Linked DNA regions of Homo sapiens: regions 2 and 3 are each linked to region 1. Evidence: promoter capture Hi-C in human tissues and cell types (Jung and others, 2019). All regions are on one chromosome and are shown on one strand. Each heading gives the region's core, a stretch centred on a gene start or on the middle of the fragment in contact. The rest is flanking DNA. Distances are from core to core; before and after follow the strand shown. Region 1 holds the start of AKTIP (AKT interacting protein). Region 2 overlaps LINC02911 (long intergenic non-protein coding RNA 2911). Region 3 overlaps LOC105371257 (a long non-coding RNA gene).

Evidence for each region. Contacts are between HindIII fragments. The study calls those that stand out against the background at their distance.
Region 2: a contact is called between a fragment that was not itself captured here and the fragment with the promoter of AKTIP in region 1, in 1 of the 25 tissues and cell types used here (dorsolateral prefrontal cortex).
Region 3: a contact is called between a fragment that was not itself captured here and the fragment with the promoter of AKTIP in region 1, in 1 of the 25 tissues and cell types used here (dorsolateral prefrontal cortex).

Annotation. Positions count from the first base shown.
Region 1 is chr16:53,500,940-53,504,873 of GRCh38, reverse strand. AKTIP (AKT interacting protein) reads left to right here and starts at 1,665. Exons shown (of 10, transcript NM_022476.4): 1 at 1,665-1,727. LOC124903690 (a long non-coding RNA gene) reads right to left here and starts at 494. Exons shown (of 2, transcript XR_007065069.1): 1 at 454-494; 2 at 1-133. RefSeq lists silencers at 498-587, 1,308-1,547, 1,568-1,637, 1,898-2,197 and enhancers at 908-1,007, 1,468-1,967, 1,968-2,469. The HindIII fragment of the contact is 2,688 bases long and covers 1-2,351 here.
Region 2 is chr16:52,068,097-52,072,018 of GRCh38, reverse strand. The region is part of intron 2 of LINC02911 (long intergenic non-protein coding RNA 2911); the gene reads left to right. Among named protein-coding and RNA genes, the nearest start is that of LINC02911, 7.4 kb to the left of the region's middle. The HindIII fragment of the contact is 7,804 bases long and covers 1-3,922 here.
Region 3 is chr16:51,756,542-51,760,749 of GRCh38, reverse strand. All of the region lies in intron 3 of LOC105371257 (a long non-coding RNA gene), which reads left to right. Among named protein-coding and RNA genes, the nearest start is that of LINC01571, 3.9 kb to the left of the region's middle. The HindIII fragment of the contact is 4,196 bases long and covers 1-4,037 here.

The sequences.
Region 1 (3,934 bases), core at 416-2,915:
TCCTGCCATGTGCAGTCTGATGCTGGTGTGCGTCTGAGTCATCCGGTGCCAAGTACGCAGTTGATGACATGCATTGGAAGCTCAGTGGATAGATGTGAGCTGGAGAAATACCTATGTGGGTCCTCGGTGAAAACTGAAGGTTGGGGAAAGGAGGAAAGCAGAAAAAAAGCTTTGCAGAGGATAATGAGCTTCAAAGAAGATTGGGAGGAAATGGGCCACAGAGGTGCCAAAGGAGACCACCTGTGGCCTGAAAAAAGGATTTCCTGCTTGCCTGCCTTTCTGTATTAAGACTCGTATTAAAAGGCATGATAACATTCCTAAATGTGTCCTAAGGGGACAAAAGGAAGTGGCTCAGAAGTGTTTTCAGCTAGGGGAGGAAGCTGGGTTTCAGAACCAACCCTTGGGATTAACATCAGGAGAATTTGGCTTCCTGCCCTTTAATAAGTCACTTACCAGAATCTCAGAGGCAACCAAAAATGGACCAAACAACCCGGCCAGAGAATGCGGCTTCTGAGTGTAAGACACTGAGGCGGTGTCACAGACAGGTCAGTGCCTCTGGTGTCTAGAAAAGGGGCAGGGGCTTGCGGGGAGAGGGCTGTCGCGCAAGTGTGGAAGTGGAGTGCCGAGATTGGACGGACTAACCACGGGGAGGCACCGTTGGTAAGAACAGGCCTGGAAAGCAGCTGGCAGCAGTCACAGAATTAGGCCAGAGAGAGACCTCCATGGGAAAGCAGACGGGAGGTCCAAATGAGAGCGTGTGAATTAAAAAAAAAAAAAAAAAAAAAGACCAGGAACTATGTTGCTATGGGAGAGGTTCTCCAACTTCAGTGTGCGCCAGAATCAGCAGCGAACTGTGACAGATGTGGATTCCTGGTCCTCAGCCTCCCCCCTCCCCCCAGCCCCCGGCCCCCACTCGGATGCTGCAGGTCGGGGCCGACACACACAGATTTACAAAGCTCCTCTGGCTGCTCTAGTGCCCAGGGCCCACTTGGAGCTGAGCTCCCTTCAGCTCCAGCCTTCAGCTCCTGCACTGATGGAGAGAACGGGCGTTTCTTGATGCCACGCCAAGTGTCCTTCTGACCCCTGGTACCCTGTGGGCCCGACGTGGCGGCCTCGGGCCTCGCAGCGCCGCCCAACGCAGTAGGACCTAGCGATGGGAGCCACTGGGCAGTCGCGCGGCCCGGCCCTCCCCAAAAGCTTGGCTTGCAGACGTTAGCGTATGCCCCAGCCCCTGCGCATGGCGGTTGCGCTGTGGGCTGTGCGAATAAACCTCCGGGAAGGTCTCCGTGGTGACTGGCAGACGCCCTGGCCAATTGTGACCCGGCGCTTGTTTGTCTCTGCCCCATCCCTCCCCGGGGGGCCGATACTTCCATGACTGACAGGCCGTCCCAGGCGCTGTTACGTAAGGGGAGGGTCAAGTGCAGTCCCACCCAAACCGGGGTGATTTGATTTGCAGGACCGAGTGTGTTCTTCCCAACGCCCCCGGAAGAACGTCTTTGACGGGCAGGTGTGAGAGCCAGTTGGCGCCGGGAGGCCAGGCGGAAGCCTCGGGCCCCAGGATCGTGCAGCAGGGGGCGGAGCCCGCTGCCGAGGGCAGGGCAGGGCAGGGCAGGGCGGGGTGGGGCGGGGCGGGGATCAAGCAGGGGCAGGGCTGGCGCTGCGGCGGGAGATGCTGTCGGGCCGCGGCGGCGCTTGGCAGCCAGGAGCTCTGCATTGAAGGCACTGGGGTGAGGCTTACTGCCCGGCAGGCTGGTGGGTACGCGAGGGCTGAGGTGTCTGTAAATCTGGCCGCCAGCCTCCACGGGCCCGGCATTTGTCCATCTTTCTAGGCGCTCGCGACTCGGCGACGGCGGCCGCAGTGGGACACGGAGGCGGGGCCGGGCACCTGTGCGCGTTTGCAGGCACCTGCTGCGCTGGCCGCCTCGCAGCCCGGGACTGCTGCTGGGGACTGCGGCTGGAGCTGGGCTGGCCCGGCCCGAGGGAGAGGGGGGCCCAGCTGGCTCGCCCCGGCCCGTGCCCGCCCTCCCCGGCCGGGTCCCGACCCCGAGCTCTGGTTAAGGGGGCGTCGCCGGGCCCCAGAGCCCCCCCACTGGAGGGGCCCGCGGCTCCCGGGCCAGCATCGAGCTAGCTGCGAGGCCAGGACAGGGCCCCCGCCTTGCATCACCTCGAGACAGGTTTGTCCAGATTCCCTGAGTGCTCAGAGACGGGTTTCCGCCCGCGGTGAGGGTGCCGGTCCGAGGCCGCCGCGGGTCCCGGCTGTCCCCAGCGAGCCTGGCCCGGGCCGTTTTCATCTTTTTTTTTCTGGCCCCTGCTCTGTCTCCTCTTAACGTGTAATTTCTTAAGTCCGATTCGGGGTGATGTGAGTGCGCTGTGGCATGTAGAGTAACAGCAGCACTCATGTTTTAGCCTAGTTTTAGCTCTGCCACGCACTGTCATTCGCGCAGGCTGAAGACCCAGACTTCTCAGCTGGGTGATGTAAAGGAATGCAGCCGTGGCCAAACAGGCAGAAATTCTAAAATTGTTTCCAAGTGACAAGGATGTAACATGTCTTGCTTCCATCTATGTCATTCCTCTCAGAACATGTATGCTGTGCTTGTCCTAGACTAGACCCTGAAAAGTGTGCTACAGTTTCTCGTGATTATGTTGCTGCTGGAAACATTGGATTAAAAGATCCATAGCAAAGTTAGGCAGCAGAAGACAATACCTCCTGCTTAATGACAGGCAGAACTGGGGACAAAATTTACTGGATTCTTAAAGAGAATCCTAACGCGTTAGACCTTTAAGAGACTTTACAGGTTTGCACCAGCCCATTAAATGTATGTTGTGGAGCACACCACTGTGTCCCAAGGGATCCGGTCCCGTGTTAGGTGTGTCCTAGAGGACACTGGGGTGCTGCACATTACTGCTAGATCTGAAAATCAGTGTCTTCATTTGAGCCAAAGGGGAACATGCCCCCGCACATTTTTGATATCTCAAGTATATTCAGTGTGTCATACTCACCTTTAAAGGCAGATTTGCGGAGAACTGTTGTTACTTATTGCATGTTATCCATGCTAGTAGAAGAGCCAGGATCTTCATTCCTCTGATTTAATTACTGGGTGGCATTTTCTCTTGGAAAACAAAACAGCAGTAATGGGCACTGGCAAGGTATGGATGACCTGGGTTGGGTACGTCCCTGGATGTCACAAGCTCGTCAGAGAAGACAAATTATTGCTGATTGGGGACATTTAGTACATGGTTTGCTCATGATCTGTTTAAGAAATTAGGAAAACGTTGCTTAGTTTTGACCCTTTTCACCTTCAGCCGTTTGATTGGTGCAAGTAGGAATTCAGAGAAGGAGCTCTGCTTTAAAGGTAACAGAGCCTGGGGGGAAATACCAGGGCAGGGAAGTTGCTGTTCTTACAGCTGGGCTTGGCTGCTTTTCCTTTGCTTCTTTGTATTTTTAGTAAATGACCCACTGACTTTATGACCTTTGAGACATGCTTTCTTATCCACGACTTGAAGCTTCGGCTGGAAGATCTGTACTTGTGAAATGTCTCTCTTGCGTGCCTGTGTTGCATTTGTCTGGATTGCTTGGCAGTTCCTTAAGTACATGATCCTGCAGTTTCTATATGTTTCGAAGTTGTAGAAGGCAGTTTATTGGGGGATGGTACTGACAGGACTCAGGTAACTACTTTTGTCGTCTTAGTGACATACTTGTGCTGTGCCTTCCTGTTTTCTCTTATTTCTTTGGCTAATACTTTGCTGGAGGAATCATTTTGTACTCAGGTGAGTTGAGGCAGCGCTTAAATCAGCCTCCTTGTATCTATTGTTTGTTCCCATAACCCTGGGAACAGTGATACAACTTATGTGTATGTGGGTACAGTGCATTCTGAGTCTGGCTTTCCTGTTAGTTAAATGCCGAGATGTGCTAGTAACAACTGTTGTCCGTATC
Region 2 (3,922 bases), core at 803-3,302, 1.4 Mb after region 1:
TTTGTGAGCATTTACATTAACAAAGCCTTTTATGCACATTCTTGCCTTTATTTGTCACAAAACCCTGTGAGATAGGGAGGTCTTATCACTCCAAACGCTTGTAGTAATGAGGACAGAGGTGCTTGAAAAAATTAGTGGTTGAGGAGACAGAGTGCCCTTGGAGGTTTCATTGGATAGTACTTCTTGAAGATGTTTATATAAAGGACCTAGCAAGTTTTCAACCTAAGTGGATGTTTTTGTTTTTGGTATTTTTTCCCACCTCTTAACACTTGCCTGCTCTAAATGTCTGAATTCTCCAGGGTTACTGAGCAATCCTCTGCTTTTTAGGCATCAGGTGTTGCTAGTGTAATATCTATAAATTTAGTTTTTAAGTTTTCTAAAGCTAATGCTTAAGGCCTTCTTCAGAACATTTTACAATGGTTTATTGCTTTTAAAAAATAATTGTGTATCAACCAGGATTGTTCTAGTACTCTTATAAATTTTTATATATTAAAAGAGACAATGTTTTCTAATTTGTTAAACTCCAAAAAATGTAGATATATTTTATGATTTCTCCATTTTCTCCTTCTCCTGGCTTTCTTTTTGTATAATGTACAGCTCTCCCACTGTTAGCAAGGAAAGTTTGAGTGCAATTGGCTTCAGCGTAGGAATTCTGATTGGGTTAAGACGATAAGTCATGCCTATCTTCCCAGCTGAGATTGGTTCAGGAATGGACCTTTAACCCCGTTTGAGCCAATGACAGGGTGAGTCACAGGTGAGAGAACTTCAGGAAGAGACACTCTTTTCCCCAGAACAATGTGGTTCAGTGGGACCCTATGAGACACGAACCTGCTTAGATTATTTTGTTACCACAAGGAAATAACCTGGATGAACTGAAAATATCAGGTGAAACTAGCTGTCCTCAAGGACTAGATCCATGATGACATCTTTTGGAACTAGAACTTCTGGATTTTTCTATTATGGGAGCCAATCCATTATTTTTGAGGTTTAAGCCACTTTGGCTGGGTTTCCTACCTTATACAATGTGTATTTAGCCCTCATAAAAGCATGTGCTAGTTCCCTTCTCTAATTTCTCTCTTTTCCCTACTCTCTTCCATGACCTGTCAGAACTGGAACCTGAAGGCCATGTTCATGGCTATCTCCAGGTTTTACCTGCTGTGCCTACTTAAGTAAATAAATATCCCATATTGACACTTGAATAAGTAAATATCCCATGTCATATATTTGTGAAAGAGTGATGATGAAAGTAATATTTAGCCTACAGATTGTCGGGAAAATCAAATGAGACAATGATCAAAAAAGTACCATACCAATATTAATTATCTTTCTGAACAGTGCTAATTTAATCTAGAAATTGTTGTCAAGCCCATTTCCACTAATTTCTTTCCAAAGAAAAATTTATAATGATCTAGTAATAGACCTATAACCAGGAAGAAGCAAGAAGGGTTATGTGCACATAGGTCATAGGTAGAATAATAAAACTCTAGTGTCATAATTATTTTATGTGCGGCCTGATTTAATGCATTGTGGAATATTCCACTGAATGAAATCATCTTGCAGACTGTAAGCAGCAGACTAATATTAAGAATTAGAATTTGTACACTGTGATTGATTATATTACAATAATTTATTTCAAAGTAGACATCATTATATCTCATCTAGAATTTCCTTCTAATGTAAGAAAATGTTTCTGAATGGTAAATTTGCTCAATTTTGCAGCAGCTGTTTCTGAGCCAGAGACCCTTGCAACTCCCTGGGGCTGGAATGCTGGGGGTTCTGGAAGCTGGGCAGCACCCTTTGACTCCAATATAGAGTGGGCAAGTGCCCTAGGCTTTCCCCTCCAGCCTAACTGTTGTCTACCCCAGGTCTACCATTTTCAGGAAATGCTACACAGTTGCATAAACAAGTTCAAAACCAGCTGCATTTTTCTGGTCTGACCGAATAGGGCTGTTTAACATGGAAAAGACATTTACTGGTGAGTCCGCCTTTGTAGTTAAATTCATTCCGATTGCCCCATCTTGTGGAAGAAGGAAAAATAGCTAGATTATTCTCCCCTTTGGGTGTATACCCTAGAAGAAAAAAATCAACCCATTTATCTCTCTTTATCTTTGTCTATAAGCTCTTCTCTGTCACATGATACATCCCAAATACACGATTCTGAAGAAAGGCCTGTATTCCTCACATATTTGCAACCTGATCCCCTTTCTTTACTGATAGGAGACCAGTATGTGATGGTTGCATTCAGAAGTGCTAGACAGAAATTCATTGCTGCAGGGGAGAACTCGAACTCTGCCACCAGAATGTAGGCCCAAGTCAGAATCCATTTGTGCAGGTCAGTCTCTCAACCTGCTGAGTTATTCTCAGAATCCTGGAACAACAGTGATCACTCTATATCCAGGTATTTGAGATACTCTCCTCTTCTTAAGCCAGCCTACCTTGTATTCGCTCACTGGTACATGGATGTCTATTCAGTGGAAGAGTAGATGGAATCAATTCACGTATTTGTTCATTCACCAATTTACTTATTTATCCATTCATTCATCCTCTTAACATTTTTTTTATTTAACATTTATATGTTGAGAATCTTCCATATGCCGTGTACCATGCTAGGTACTAGGGAAACAGTAATGGGCAAAACAGCCACATAATCTACCTTTATGGAATTGGCACTTTTATTGGAGCTGGGTACACAGATACTAATTAAAGAATCAGACACATATATAATTGAAAATTGTGATAAGTCTATGGAGGGGCATTAAAGGGTACTATGAGACCATAAAAGAAAGACCTGATGTATGGAGCCTGACCTTTCAGGATAAAGGGACATTTGAGCTGAGATCTGAAGAGTAGACACTAAAGGAGAGACAGGGGCATGTGGCAAGAGCATTACAAGCAGAGCCTGTGAGCTGGGAAGAATGCAGTGGCTGCAGCAGAGAAAAAGGAGAAAGAGTGGCTCCCAAGAAAGCTATAGAAGCAGTCAGAAACCAGATTATGTTGGGCTTTGAGGACATATTAGGAGTTTGGCCATCTGACCACATGGGTTGCAAATAGAAAACACTGTTCTTTCATCAAACGAGGCCGATTTAGTCTGACCTTCCTTTGCTTTGGCTCACAGCAGTTGTGACAAAGGAGCCAAACCAGTGCTTTCTGGGTGTCCCTATCTCCTTCTCGGCCAGCAAAACACGATAGGTTCCACTATTTATGCTGTGCCCATCCATTGCAACCTTTGAATCACAACTACATCTTTATAAGTTGCTGTGTAATTTCTCAAATTACAGTTTCTTTATGGGGGACCTCTACGATTTACCTAGCACCTAAGGGTGTTTGTTTGTGGGTACAAATGACTGTTGATTCTGTCTCTAGGCGACAAAGAACAGCTTGCCTCTGCAAGCAGTCAGCCTGAAAGTTGCACAACACTGACATCTGCTGCTTGTATGCAGTTTGAGATTGTACCGGGTCAGAAAGAGTAAATGTAGTAAAACTAAATGTTTGAAAATGTTGGGCAAACGTACACACACACACACACACACACACACACAGGTGGGTGCACACAGCTCCTCTACAGCCTATGGTCTTGTACTTCTGATTTTTCAATAATATACAAGAATAGAAGGCTAATTTCAACATGATGTTTTCTTACTGTCAATATTTGCCAATTGGACAAGGTGTTCACATGATGGAAGATGAAGTTTCTGCTTGGCTTTAGAGGAAAAACAATTGACAAAAACCTAGATCAATGTTTTCACTTAGCAAATATTAATACAAGGCATAGAAATAAATGAAAAAAGGTATCAACTTTCATCATAAAAGCAGCTTAATAATAGTGATTTTGTGGATGACATATAATATTTGCATAGTAATTTACCATTTCTAAAGCATTTTAAGATGTCTTTTCACATTTCCTCAGTCATTCAACCATTTA
Region 3 (4,208 bases), core at 690-3,189, 1.7 Mb after region 1:
TTTTTAACATTTGATTCTGTTTTTTCTTTTTACCTGTTTTCATTTTTTAAGCTAAAGTTCAAAGACATTTTCTAACCAAATGTCATTTATCATATCAACATATGCTGTTTATACCGTGAATATAGTTAACGTAGTGAAATGAAACTTTAGTTGTGTGAAAAATAGCAACTTTTAAGGCTCACCAAATATTACAAACACTGCAAATTCTTTCTGTAATATCCAGAAGTTGATTTTGGATCAAAATTTAGAGCTGTCTTTCAAACAGAGCCACATTAAATTTAAAATTAGTCAAGGATTACAGTTTGCTATGAGAAATGTCTCCACCTCCAATATGAGCAAATGTCATCAAAGTGAAAGGGGAAAAAAAGAAAAGAAAAGAAAAGATGGGATTGTTTTGACACAAGTGAGAGAAGCTTAGTGTCGCTTCATTTTTAACCTCATTTCAAATTATCTTTTAACCACCCTGATATTTCTGCTTGGAGATAATCACATCTCATCAGCCTTCTCAAAACCCGGCAGCTACATACCCGGAGCTAATGCTTCTTGTTAAATCATATTGCTAAACAAATTGTTACAGCTCCCGCAGCTGACTGATGGAAATCAGCTTTGCTGGACAGCCTCTTTTTCTTTTCTTTCCATCATTCAATTTTATTTTCTTTCCGTGGGTAATTTTAATCTTCCAGAAGATGTTTGATTGTTTCTCCTAGAGAGGTAGGACATGAGTTTTAAAAATGTAAAAGCAAATCTGCCCTATAGGTGATGAAGATGGAGACCTGTTGCAATGCTCCTGGGAAAATAAACACATGGATTCACATCTATGTTTAATAGAAGAAAATCTTTCTCAGGAAAAGCAATAAAATGTGGGGACTTCAGGAGAAGAAAAGTTACCCTGGTTATAAACATCCACAATCAATTATTCCTAACATCATTTAAGAATTCACATATTGTTGAGGTTTAACAAACACAGCAAGGAAACTGGGCTTATTTATTTTAGCAGTTTTGCATCTGCAGATGTAAAATCAAAAGCTCCCTGCTTAACATTTGAAAAACTCCTATGTAAATGACTGACCGCCTTATCTTGACACAATTTGCCTCAACTTCACTTCCTCTCACTTCGTCATTTAATTTGTATGGTTTCCAAATCAGAGCCGACTATCATCTATTAGTCCCCCTGGTGACAGAGGGCAGGGTGCTGTTGTATTGGAGTTAATAAAGCAGAAACACAAGCCTAATTACTGGGGAGATAAGCCATGCTGGCAGGGATTCTGTCCTCCAGGTCTGGACCTATCTGCACCCAGACATTTTGGAGTGGGTCTGTGAGCACAAGGGCAGACACAGACAGCAGCAGATTGGGCTGCATTTGTTTTCACGTTAGAGGTGCTGATACATTTCAGGAATCACTTTACCTGGAAGATGGGGTGGTAAACTGCATCTACAGGAGGAAACAAGTGTATATCCATGAGTCAAATGAGATAATGGGGGCAAAGGTGTGTCATAACTGCAAGGGGCCAAATAGAAAGTGACATTTTTGTTACAAGAGCATGGATGTGTATTTAAATATAGTCTACAGACACAAGCATTAAATAGCTCCATGTTGAATGTGTGTGAGTGTGTGTGTGTGTGTGTGTGTGCGAGAGAGAGAGAGAGAGAGGAAGAGAGAGAGATTGCCTTTCTGATGCCAGCAGTCACATATACCATGGAATGTATCACCGGAAAAATTAAAATATACATAAATATGTACTTACAGAAGTACACACATAGGTATATATACATCGTATAACATATAGTATCATACCATACATAGCCTAATGACTCAAAAACCTGATTGAAAATTTGATTTATTGATTATTCACAAGTCCATGTTGTGTTTTTATAGGTTTATATTATGTGCATATGACTGTATCAGACATATGCAAATTGCATACACATATTGAGAAGTTTCACTATCATATATACGTTTTCATATGTATTTATGCAAGACTCAAAGCCTGTCATTAGAGCTGCTGCTTTCCCCAGTTTCCCTCCTTCCCAAGTAAACAAACAAAAAAGCCTACCTGTGTGCTTAAAATCACTAACATTTAAGAGATATTCATAAAAAGAGGAAAAAATGATACAGTTTCTGCCTCCTGATTTGGAGGGTTACAATTATTGATGGATACTGTAACAAAAACAGAAAACTGTGTTTGGAGAGGTGAATCTATTAACACAGCTTTGTCCAACAAATATTAAAATTGCAAAGTAATTTGCCCATTTGACAATAGCTAATGAACTTAAGTATGCAGAATGAACTTTAATAATTAAGGAAATTGTGCAATTAAACTGAAAGCAGCTGAAAATTACAAATAAAATTAACTCTCTGGCTTGGCAAGAATATCACTGCTTCCAATATCCAACCAGGTTGAATGTCTGGAAAGTTTCAAGTGACTGTCCGTTTTATTGTGATGACTTACCATAAAGATATTGACCTCATTTTTTTTTCTAACAAAAAAGACCACTAATAATGCTTTCCATGATATGTTTCTGAATTACCATGTGGTTGGAATGATAGGAAAAGTCTCATTGGCAGGGTGCATTTTAATTTTGATTTGAGGTTTATGATCCTATCTGTGTCTATTTTAAATTTAAGTGGATTACATTCAGCAAAGATCCTTTTACTATCCTGGCTTGGCTGTCTCATACTATTAGGCTCTATATGTTCAGCTTCTACAAATCTGTTAATACATAAAACCATAAGAAGCCTCTTATGTTCAAACCAGGTTAGACCGAAGACATCAGATTAATATTTGTTAATGTAGAAGGGCTCTTAATCAGATTTGCTTATTTCATGACAGAATGTTTCTGCAATTATCATAATTGTTGTGCTAAATATGTTTGTCTTTGTATCTGGCTTTAGGCATAATCTTCTCTCTTGAAAGCCACTCAATGTGGGACTTGAGATTCCTGCACAAAACCCAATTAATATTAAGATGACAAGCCCCGATGAGCTCCCAAAGAGGCAACAGCTGAACAGACTCTAACATTCTTAAGTACAGATACTTGAGTGATCAAGTACATCTGAGGGAGACACACAATTCAATAATCCCTTTCTCAAGAAAGTCAAGAGCCCTGTGAGATGCGCGGGAAATCAAAGGAACACATCAGAAAGAAAATGACGGGTCTGGTCCTGTAGCGTCTCTATTAAAATGCAAAAGTTATGGATTTTTTTCGGGGTGATGGGAACCTTTTCTGTTTTCATTGATTTCTTTTTATAGCTTGATGATTTCTCTAAGATTATCTTAAAAGCTTAAAGAAAAAAGGGGCCTCATCAAAAGGTATCTTACATGACAGGAGCATAGATAGTTTTGGTTAACATGATGTGGCCAAGGCGCGGCGTAGTCCGGGGAGAAAGAGACCTCACTCAGGCCTCAGCCTGGGGAAAGTCTGCTGCCTCTACAGCAAAATGAAATTTTGCGGCCACATTGGAGGCACTTGGAAAACCCATCCTGCTGGGCCCTGGGCCTGTTAGGAGGGACTGAGTGGCAGGCTGGAGCTACCTGGGCCTTCCCCAGAGACCGAGTTCTGAAGAGCTGTATTCGCAAATGTATTTCCATTTTCATTGTATAAAGCAATTGCCTTTCTGTGTTGACCCCCAATTTCCTAGGCTCATGAGTGACTCCTTGGATTTACAGCTAAATTCACTGTCCGGAGGTGACACCCTAACCCATTGATTTGTAATCAGAAATTAGTTTCCTGTCACTTTAAAAGTGAGGCGCTAAGGGGCAGTAAAAACAAGGCTGTCGGAGCTAAATGGAGCTAGAGTCCAGGCTCCGGGCCGTGACACACTACCTTTCGAATATATTTATTACGTTAAAAACCTCAGTAGTGCACTTTAAATGGCTGGTGACACCCTCTTAGGTGACTTATTGCTCTGTGAAATCAGTTTTGCAGAAACTCTTTCACATATGCCAAAAATAAAAACCACACACACAAAAAATACACATGCACACAAAACAGCAGTCCTGTGTGTGTGCATTACAATGTATCGGTACCAGTCCATGGAGTATCTGCTCACTTCTGTGCCCAGCATATCAGCGGCAGGAAGCCCCCACAGCGGGCAAGGAGCCTCCCTAGAGCTGACATGACTCAAAGTGAAACCAACCAACGTGGCCCTTGCTAGTGGCCTGATAAATCTGGAGGAAGCATCAAGGCCACCTGCCCAATTTTGAGGT